Linked DNA regions of Homo sapiens: all the other regions are linked to region 2. Evidence: promoter capture Hi-C in 16 types of primary human blood cells and fetal thymus (Javierre and others, 2016). All regions are on one chromosome and are shown on one strand. Each heading gives the region's core, a stretch centred on a gene start or on the middle of the fragment in contact. The rest is flanking DNA. Distances are from core to core; before and after follow the strand shown. Region 1 holds the start of CIDEC (cell death inducing DFFA like effector c). Region 2 holds the start of TADA3 (transcriptional adaptor 3). Region 3 overlaps MTMR14 (myotubularin related protein 14).

Region 1 (3,280 bases), core at 759-3,258, 88 kb before region 2:
TTTGTATTTTTAGTAGAGACCGGGTTTCACCGTGTTAGCCAGGATGGTCTCGATCTTCTGACCTCGTGATCCGCCCACCTCAGCCTCCCAAAGTGCTGAGATTACAGGCGTGAGCCACCGCGCCCGGCCCTACTTTGTCTTTATATAGATTTGCCTATTCTAGACATTTCATATAAGTGGAATCATACAATATGTATATGATTCCTGTGACTGGCTTTGTCTACTTTCTGTACTGTTTGCAAGGTTCCTCCATGTGGTAGTATGGATCCTTTTTGATAAATAATATGCCATGTATGGATAGGCACATTTAAAAAATCGATTTATAAATTGAACATTCATGTGTTTCTACCTTTTGGCTATTACGAATAATCCTATGGATATTCACATACAAGTTTTTGTGTAGACATATTTTTCATTTCTTTTGGATATGTATGTGTATATATATATGTGTGTGTGTATATATATACACATATATATGTAATTTTGTTTGGTTTTGGTTTTGTTTCTTTTCTTTTGTAAAGACAGGGTCTCCCTATGTTACTCAGGCTAAATTTTAATTCCTGGGCTCAAGTGATCCTCCTGCATCAGCCTCCTTCTGAGCAGCTGGGACAACAGGTGTGCTCTGTATGACACACATACACCACACGCACACACACAGAAGTGGAACTGCTGGGTCAGAGATCTTACACTCTTAACCACTCCACATTTCAGCTTGTCTTACTCTCTGCTATGATTTAATATGTACATTATCAAATTGAGAAAAAGACAAAAAAATTAAAAATAATAAAATAAAAATAAAAAATTATCAGTAATACTAATAATCACTTCGATCCATTGAGTGTTTATGTTTGCAAAGCCTTTATTTTTATTTATTTTTATTTTTTTGAGACAGAGTCTCACTCTGTCACCCAGGCTGGAGTGCAGTGGCGTGATCTCGGCTCACTGCAACCTCTGCCTCCCGGGTTCAAATGATTCTCCTGCCTCAGCCTCCTGAGTAGCTGGGATTTCAGGCACCCACCACCACGCACGGCTAATTTTTGTATATTTAGTAGAGATGGGGTTTTCGCCATATTGACCAAGCTGGTCTCGAACTCTTGACCTTGTGATCTGCCCACCTCGGCCTCCCAAAGTTCTGGGATTAGAGGTGTGAGCCACCGTGCCCGGACTTTTTTTTTTTTTTTTTTTTTTTTGAGACAGGGTCTCACTCTGTCACCCAGAATGGAGTGCAGTGGTGTGATCTAAGCTCACCGCAACCTCTGCCTCCCAGGCTCAAGCGATTCTCCTGCCTCAGCCTCCCAGATAGCTGGGATTACAGGCACACACCACCACGCCTGGCTCATTTTTCTATTTTTAGTAGAGACGGGGCTTCACCATGTTGGCCATGCTGGTCTCAAACTCCTGACCTCAAGTGATCCACCTGCCTCGGCCTCCCAAAGTGCTGGGATTACAGGCGTGAGCCACGGCACCCAGGCTACTTTTTTCTTTTTTCTTTTCTTTTCTTTTTTTTTTTTTTTTTCAGAGACAGGGTCTCACTCTATTGCCCAGGCTGTCCTCCAACCCCTGTCCTCAAGCAATCCTCCCGCCTCAGCCTCCCAAAACACTGGGATTATAGGCATGAGCCACTGTGCCCCTTTACTTTTATTGTCACTAATCCTCACCACTACCCTATAAAACAAGAATCATTATCGTCATTACACAGAGAAGAGAAACGGGCTCACAGAAGTCAAGTGATCTGTCTAAGCTCAAGCAAGCTGATATGGGGTGGAGTTGGGACCACAACCCACATCTGCCTGCTTTCTGTGCCCTCTGTGCTTGATCTCATGTCATGGGCCATCCATTTTGCCAAAGCTTTCGAAACATGCCTTCTCCCCTCCTTTTAGGCCTTTTCTGGAAGTCAGGCTGGCTTGCAGCTCTCACCCCAAGCTCTTTTCCCCAGCTGGGGCTGAAGGCTGGGGAGGAGCTTCATGGGGGCTGGAAATAAATGAAGGGAGGGCTGGGCGGGACAGGGCAGTATTTCCAGGAGGCTGTGAGGGGGAGGTAAGGAGTTTGTTATTGTTTTGGGTTTGGGGATTTTTTTTTCTTTGCTCCTGGAGAGCAGGTTAGGTAGCTCTTGGCAGAGTTTTGCTAGGGATACGAAGTGGGTGAGGCTGAGGCAAGCAGAATCCTCCTGCCTCAGCCTCCCACGTAGCTAGGACTAGAGCTTCTGCAGTGCTAAGTGGGAAAGGGGCTTTCTGCCTCTGTGGGGCCTGGTCTGGAAAGTCCCCCAAATTGTTAAAAGCAAAGAGTGATTGTCCCCAGCTGGCAAGGGGACTTTTGTTTTATGTCCACCCCTTGTGCCCCTTGCTCTGCGAAGCCCTACCTGTGCCGGGAGCTTCGAATAGGAAGAGGACCTCAGGGCCAGGCATCCAGGGACTGAGGGGCTACAGCAGAAACAGACCCAGAGGCACCCTTGGCTAGGAAGAGCAGGATGAAGGTGTAATAATTTTGGGAGTGGTCTAAGAAGACTTTCCTTTTAAAGAGTGGAAAGCAATGAAACTGAGGCTTCAAGGCTGCAAAAATTTCGTCCTGGATCAGAGAAGGGCACTACAGGTGGAGGGAACTATCTGTGCAAAGGGTTGGGCCCTTCAAGAGTTGGAGCACAGAGGTTTAGGAGAAAAAGTGGTGACAGATGAGCCCAGGGCTATCTGCTTAGACCTGTGATCTAATATGGGTGCCAACAGCCACATGGCAATGTGGCTATTTAAATTTAAATTAGTTAAAATTCAATAAAGTAAAAAATACAGCTCCTGTGCCAGGTGCAGTGGCTCACGCCTGTAATCCCCGCACTTTGGGAGGCCAAGACAGGGAGATCACCTGAGGTCAGGAGTTCAAGACCAGCCTAGCCAACATGGTGAAACCCAGTCTCTACTAAAAATCCAAACAAAACGAAACTAAACTAAAAATTAGCTGGGCGTGGTGGCAGGTGCCTGTAATCCCAGCTACGGGGGAGGCTGAGGCAGGATAATTGCTTGAACCCAGGAGGCGGAGGTTGTAGTGAGCAAGATCGCCCCATTGCACTCCAGCCTGGGTGACAAGAGCGAAACTCAAAAAAAAAAAAAATTCAGCTCCTGAATCACACTAGTTATGTTTCAAATACTCAATAGCCACATGGGGCTAGTAGCAATGGTATTGGAGAGTATGTACAAGGCATGCCTCTATCATCACAGAATGTTCTTTTGGCCACTGTGAAGCCTCAGGAAGGGGCTCGGATTGCTCAAGGACCCATGGGAGAGAGGAGGCT
Region 2 (3,303 bases), core at 24-2,523:
CACATGTATGAAAAAGGGAGGACTTCCAGGAAGGGAGGGATGAGCAGTATCACAGCTAACATACACTAAGGCTGACACAGTTCAGTTCTGACCAGGAAGGGCCTGAATGGAAGCAACACGAGAGATCCTCCAATGGGGTGGAAGCAGGGCTGGAGGTACCAAGAATGGGATAAGGAAGTGTGGCCGCCTGCCTTAAGCAACTGTAGGGTCAGGAAGGCAGAAGAGGACAAAGGGCGTATGTCGTGAAGTTCCACTGTGGATAGGCAGGTGGACTTGCTTCATGCCTCAGAGGCTAAGAGGCCGACTACGTACCCTCGAAATGCTCCAAAGAGCCTAGGAGACCCCACTTCCGGGTTCCTACAGGGCTCAGGAAAAGCCCCTACCTGCTTCGAAGGCTGACCGTGAAGCCACAAGGCCCACTTCATACCAGGGAGTACCCCCACTCGCCCCTTCCTCACCTCGGGCCCCCGCCCCGTCTCTTTTTCCCACCCTCATCGTGTCCCCACAACCCCCGGACATCCCTCGGCCCCGCGCCCCTGCGGCAAAGCCACATCTCCCACCGACCCACTGCCCTGAGGCCGAACAGCCGGGGGTCCCTGGCCGGGGGCCCGGCTCTCTCACCATCGCGGGCGCTGGCTGGGCCGGAAAGCGGAAGTACGGAAGTGGCCAGCCCCGCGATGCCTGCCCTTTCGCGAGAAGCGCAGCTACGGTCTCCGCCCGGACTTCCGGACGGTACCATCTATGCTCCGAGCGGGGTAGAGAGCCCTTACGAACGCTTGGGCCTTCCGGAAGTTTTCCACCTAGGGCTGTCTCGGTATTTTTAAATTCTTGCACTCGAGTCACTATTTAAGCTCCTCCAGGAATGGGTGCAGCTTCCCTTTGTGCCTTCGGCCTTCTTGTCACCTTTGCCACAGCCTCCCCCAGGTATGCAATGGTACAGCCCAGCTTCAGATTGGGCACCAAATTAGGACAAGCCGAAGCGGACGAGCCCTTCGTTTCTTCCGGTTCTGTACCCCCATCCTTTCTCTCGCCCCTCCTACCCGCAGCTCCTGGCGCTCGGCGGGGCTAACTGCAGCGCGGAGATCTCGGCCGCCAAGCTCCGCCTCCCGCCCCGGGCTGTGCCCCGGGGCTCGCCTGAGGCCGACCACCCGCACCCCACCTCTAGCGGCTTTGCTCGAGGCCCACCTTCTTCCCACCCCCGGCAAACTCCAGTAGGCTCGCCCTCGCTGACTCCCCGCCCCCGCGTCAACTGCAAGGGGCCCGCCCATAGCCAGTTCCGGGGCGGTTGCTCACATCGACCGGAACTCCCCGCCCCCTCCCGCGGCCCCTGGGGCCGTAGGAGGCCGCAGCGAGGAGGTAGAGGGGGCGGGGGTCGCACTAGGGTGTCCCTAGAGAACGAGGACTCTGAAGGCGGGACATTTGGGCGACCCCCGGGCGGGGCCAGCCATTAAACAGTCCCACTTCTGTGCCAGACACTGAACTGGGCTCTTGACGGGCATCATCTCTTAATCCTCAGAACATCCCAGGGAGGTAGGTACTATTGTTATCCCCATTTTTCAGATTCAGACTTTTAATGGGGAAACAGACCGAGACTTCTTTTGTCCCCATTTTACAGATGGAAAAACTGAGACTGAAAAAGGTCAAATAACATGTTCAGGGGCATATAAGTAGAGAATGGTAAAGCCTGGGCTTGAACCCAGGTCTGTCTGGCTTACCAGCCCACGTTCTAAACCACTGTTAGTGACTAGAGAAGGGAGAAAGGTGGAATAGGGTAAGAAAAGAGGCCAAGAGTCCCAGAGAACATGGTAAGAATGGGGTGCTTGGAACTCAAAGTCTTAGCAGAACCCAAGAGAAATAGAAGGGAAGGAAAGAGCATCAGAAAGGCGAGGCAAGGCATAGCAGTATAGCATGGTGATCAGGGTGCAGACTCAAGACTAGCGGGGTTCAAATTGCATCTTGGAAGCATAGGCACATACCCACCCTTACAGAGTCTCAGTTTCTTTCTCTGTAAAAACGAGATCACAATGGTCCTTGTTCATGGTGCTGAGTGAGAAATTCAGTGAGATAAACTGATAAAGTGCTCTGCACCTAGCTTGGTACCCAGTTAAGTGCCCTGTGAGTAGGAACTGTGCCATCAATTTTGTCAGTAAGGGACTGAAGCTGGGCTTCCTTGAGGCTGTCCCTGGAGGTAAGAAGCCCTTGGGCTTTTCTCAGACCACTTTGTCTCCCATCAATGGCCCTGTCCTCTCCAGCTCCACAGGATCCCCATATCCTGGGCCATGAGTGAGTTGAAAGACTGCCCCTTGCAGTTCCACGACTTCAAGTCTGTGGATCACCTGAAGGTCTGTCCCCGCTACACGGCAGTGCTGGCACGCTCTGAGGATGATGGCATCGGCATCGAGGAGCTGGACACCCTGCAGCTGGAGCTGGAGACCCTGCTGTCTTCTGCCAGCCGGCGCCTGCGTGTGCTTGAGGCCGAAACCCAGGTGATAACCCCAGAGAGGGGCCAGCACCAGAGATGGACTGCAACAAGTTATGGGATGGGTCATTGAGTTAGCCCCATATGCTGAGACTTGGGGTACAGGGGTTTGTGGGGAGAGGGAGAGAGACGCAAACTGGGTTTGCATGACACAAAAAATACACAAGAATATGCATGATCCTCTTAAATTGCAAGATTTCTAATTCAGTAAGCTTTTATTGGCACCCCACTCATCCCCCATTGTGTTCTGGGTCCTATGCTAGTCATTAGAGAAAGGTAATTAGGACAGTTATGGCTGTCAGGGAGCTTGGCAACTAGGAAAGTGAGAAAGTCAAGTACATACCAGGTGATGTGATGTTGTGGTTAGCAGTCCTAGGGAACTGGAATGGGGAAACCTGGATTTGAATCCTGGCATAAGCGCTTGCTAGCATTGCTGTTTCCTAGCTATGTGACTTTGAGAAAGTTGCCTCATATCTCTGAGTGTCAGTTTCCCTATCTGCAAAGTGGGGTGAATAATAGGACCTACCTTAGTGCTTTTGTGAGGATTAAAAGAGAATTTTTTGCAAAAACTCAGCCCAATGCCAGACACTAAGTAAGTACTTCAGATGTTATTTATTTGCTACTCTGATGACTTTATTCACTGCATAAAGATGCCTTGAGCCTTGTGTGCCAGGCGCTATGCTGTATTCTGCAAAATAGAGATGGTTAAGGTGGGCTTTCTGGTCCTCAGTAGCTTATGGTCTAGTTGAAGAGACAAGGTGTGATGGTCATTCCAGTGTGACCAAACAACACGATTGGGTGCACGTTGGAGCTGTGAAGTGCCA
Region 3 (3,251 bases), core at 704-3,203, 110 kb after region 2:
TGACGCATGCCAGCAAAACAGCACTTCCCAGGGGGAGGGGGAACACGGCACCTGTAATTGGAGTGGCTTTCCCAGGAATTTAAAACAGCCTCATTTACCTGACCCTCCCACGCCCCTGGAGAGTTCTGACCCACTTTTAGTGACTACAGAGACAGGCGCTGTAGTGCTGTGCTAATAAAGTCATTATCAGTAGCTGCACAAGGGGTCTCTCAACTCATCTGGCTCAACGTGTCAGACACACCATTGCCAATGGAGCAGTGATTCTCACAGGGCAAGGAAAAGCAGGAGAGGGAGGTAAGAGCTGCACTGTACCAAGCCCAGTGAGCGTCAGGTGGGCTAGGGGAAGACTGCAGCAGCCGGGGAGGGCAGGCCCTGCCGAGGACAAGAGAGCTGCGGAATGCCAGCCACCATGACGGCTGTCTGGAGGAGATGCTGACCATCAGGGAGGGGCAGCAAGTTCCCAAGGCTGGGGCAGGAACTACAGGCTGGGGAGGGCTGGGCTGGTAGAGGGCCAAGGTCACACGGCTGAGCTGAGGGATAAATCCAGCCCTGCCAGACTCCAAAGTCCACATTCTTAATCACTGTAGGTACTCTTCCTATAACACCAGAGTAAGAAGCAGAAGTCTGAGGGAACTGCTCAAAGTGATGACCGAGGAGATATGCTAAAAAACAAACAAACAAACAAACAAACAAGGCTCGTGCCTGACTCTCTCATCCTACGTGCTTCATGAAAAAGTCTCTGGGAGCTGAGCTAAATGCCATGCCTCTGCTTATGTTTCTATGCCTAGAGTACTCTTTCTGCTGGTTGGTAAACTCCTACTCATCCTTCAAAGGCCCAGACCAATTATCTTCTCTTTGGGGTTTCTGTGACCACTGGTAAAAACTGTAATGTAGGTGATGGTTACGTTGTTGCCTCTTTTCCTAGTCTAATCCCCATGAGGGCAGAGGCTGTTTTGGCATCTCTAAGGCTTAGTGTTCAGGGACTAGGAGGTCATTGCAGAATGTTCCTTGCTGCTTCTTCATAGCTGGGGCAATGCTGAGTGCCTGAGGGACAGCAGCCCCAGGGAGGGGTCTTAGGACACAGAAAGAAGGGGCATACCTCTACGGAATTCAATTCGGTTACATGGAGGGCAGCAAGACACATGTGTCCTGCCACAACTGCTCCTATCATTCATTCATTCACTCATTCATTCATTCAGTAAGCCTCACACTGCATGCCTCCTGAAGGGCCTGGCACCAGGCACACAAGGGTGAATATGACCTCAACAATCATGGAGTCACGGGAGAGGGAAGACAAAGTTAACCACTGCAGGTGTGCAACTAAAAGGGGACCTCTAGGATGCTGTGTAACCATATGACTGGAGAGCCAAGCCTGATCTGTAGGGACATCAGAGAAGGCTTCTCAGAGGTGATGACATGAGACAGCATAAGCAACAGAGAAAGGAGACACGTGTTTCTGGCAGAGAAAACAGCACGTGCGAACCTGGAGAGGGCTGCCTTCTTTTGTTTGTTTGTTTGTTTGTTTTTTTGAGACGGAGTCTCGCTCTGTCGCCCAGGCTGGAGTGTAGTGGCGCGATCTCAGCTCACCGCAAGCTCCGCCTCCCGGGTTCACGCCATTCTCCTGCCTCAGTCTCCCGAGTAGCTGGCACTACAGGCGCCCGCCACCACGCCCGGCTAATTTTTTAGTAGAGATTGGGTTTCACTGTGTTAGCCACGATGGTCTCGATCTCCTGCCCTCGTGATCTGCCCGCCTTGGCCTCCTAAAGTGCTGGGATTACAGGCATGAGCCACCGTGCCCGGCCATGGGCTGCAGGAAGATCAGCTGGTCACAAGAACAGGCAAGACCAGACTGCATGGAGCTGGGTAGGCCATGTACAAGTTCTTGCATTGTATTCTGAGGAAAATGGGAAGTCAGTGGTAGGTTTTAAGGCAGGGGTGACAGTGATGGCCCTGCTCTATCATTTCAGTGCTTGCTATCTGAGCACTTCATTTCTAGTTACTCCTCAGTGAGGCCCCAGGTTCAGCTGTGAGATGCACTGAGACAGTGGTGGCCTGAGCTAGGCACTGCACAGGAGACGAGGGCAAGAAGGATTGCAGTTGCACTAGGGGCAGAGACTAGAGAACCGATGGGAGCTGGTGATGGATGTGGTGGGAGCAAAGAACTCGAGTTTCAGGTGTGAGCATCTGGGTAAATGGTGGGCCATGGCCAACTCTACTCTGGACAGCTTGAGTCTGAGGGGCCGCCTGAAGGGACATGTGTGAAAGGTGATGCAGGTATGGATCAGAGAGGCCTGGCTGTGGGCTCATGGTGTGGACGATGGATGAGATCACCTGGGGAGATGGTGAAAAGGAACAGGGTACCGGCACCCCAGGGCTTTGCGGGCAGAAAAGGCAGAGCCCACACCCAGCCAAGGAAGAGCATGCTAGGAGCCCCAGTGAGACAAAACAGGTTGAGCAACACTGAAGAGGTGGCCTCTTGGGAGGCGCCTGCCTGCCTGCTACACTCCAGCCCTGCTGCCTTCACGCCTGGAAGTTTCAGTGTTCACTTCCCTGAATTAGCTAGCTAGCAGCCTCTTCATAATTATCATTACAATCTGTCTGGTATTTCAGTTCAGGAGTCCCTTTCAAGCAGTGATCATATTTGAGCCTGGCACAACTCTGAAATAGGTACTGCCAACACCATTTTCAGGGGGAAGTGAGGTCATCTGTTCAAGGCCACAGAGCCTTGCAGGAAGGGCCAGGCAAGCTGGGACCTAGATCTAGGGCCTGCATCTACTAAGCAGAGTACCTCCTCACACGCACAGGACCCCTTCCTAAAGAGGCAAACATCCTTGGGACCAGTGCCTGGAACTGTCACATCTCATTTGCTGAGTAGTTCATCAGATCCAGTTTGTACCTGCATAAGGAGAAAAAATGGTGCCGGAAGGGACCAGAAAGAGGGTGGCTTGGGGCAGAGTCTACTTGACCTCTGCATGCAGCACATAAAGAAGGAAGCCTGCCGGTTCTTTTATCTACTCAGTCTGTCTAGGCACAGCCTGGGACATGAGACCACAGCACAGGTACCCCAAACCTGTTCCTTCTCCAGGCTTCCAGACCATAACAAACAACTGGTCTGCTTTCCTCCCCAGTGCTCCCTCTCTTGCAAACACCTGCATTGGGGAACTCTGACATCACCCTACTTCATACACTCAAACAGTTGCTGTGAGCATAAACCTTGTGATTAGGGTCTGGATATATATAGAGAAAACAAG

Evidence for each region. Contacts are between HindIII fragments. The CHiCAGO score rates a contact against its expected background, and 5 or more counts as called.
Region 1: the fragment with the promoter of CIDEC here is called in contact with the fragment with the promoter of TADA3 in region 2 in 6 of 17 cell types (total CD8 T cells, erythroblasts, monocytes and 3 more); the score reaches 6.1 in total CD8 T cells.
Region 3: a contact is called between a fragment that was not itself captured here and the fragment with the promoter of TADA3 in region 2, in 1 of 17 cell types (neutrophils). The highest score is 6.3, in neutrophils.

Annotation. Positions count from the first base shown.
Region 1 is chr3:9,878,981-9,882,260 of GRCh38, reverse strand. It overlaps CIDEC (cell death inducing DFFA like effector c), which reads left to right and starts at 2,008. Exons shown (of 7, transcript NM_001321142.2): 1 at 2,008-2,037; 2 at 3,207-3,280. The HindIII fragment of the contact is 5,760 bases long and covers 1,851-3,280 here.
Region 2 is chr3:9,790,443-9,793,745 of GRCh38, reverse strand. It overlaps TADA3 (transcriptional adaptor 3), which reads left to right and starts at 1,273. Exons shown (of 9, transcript NM_006354.5): 1 at 1,273-1,530; 2 at 2,253-2,486. The coding sequence starts at 2,280. It overlaps ARPC4-TTLL3 (ARPC4-TTLL3 readthrough), which reads right to left and starts at 1,198. Exons shown (of 12, transcript NM_001198793.1): 1 at 622-1,198. The coding sequence starts at 624. It overlaps ARPC4 (actin related protein 2/3 complex subunit 4), which reads right to left and starts at 664. Exons shown (of 6, transcript NM_005718.5): 1 at 622-664. The coding sequence starts at 624. It also overlaps a transcript of OGG1 not described here. RefSeq lists enhancers at 1-88, 288-814, 789-888, 815-1,341, 2,446-2,946 and silencers at 1,019-1,308, 1,369-1,458. The HindIII fragment of the contact is 10,858 bases long and covers 1-2,693 here.
Region 3 is chr3:9,679,115-9,682,365 of GRCh38, reverse strand. All of the region lies in intron 9 of MTMR14 (myotubularin related protein 14), which reads right to left. Among named protein-coding and RNA genes, the nearest start is that of CPNE9, 23 kb to the left of the region's middle. The HindIII fragment of the contact is 4,297 bases long and covers 1-3,251 here.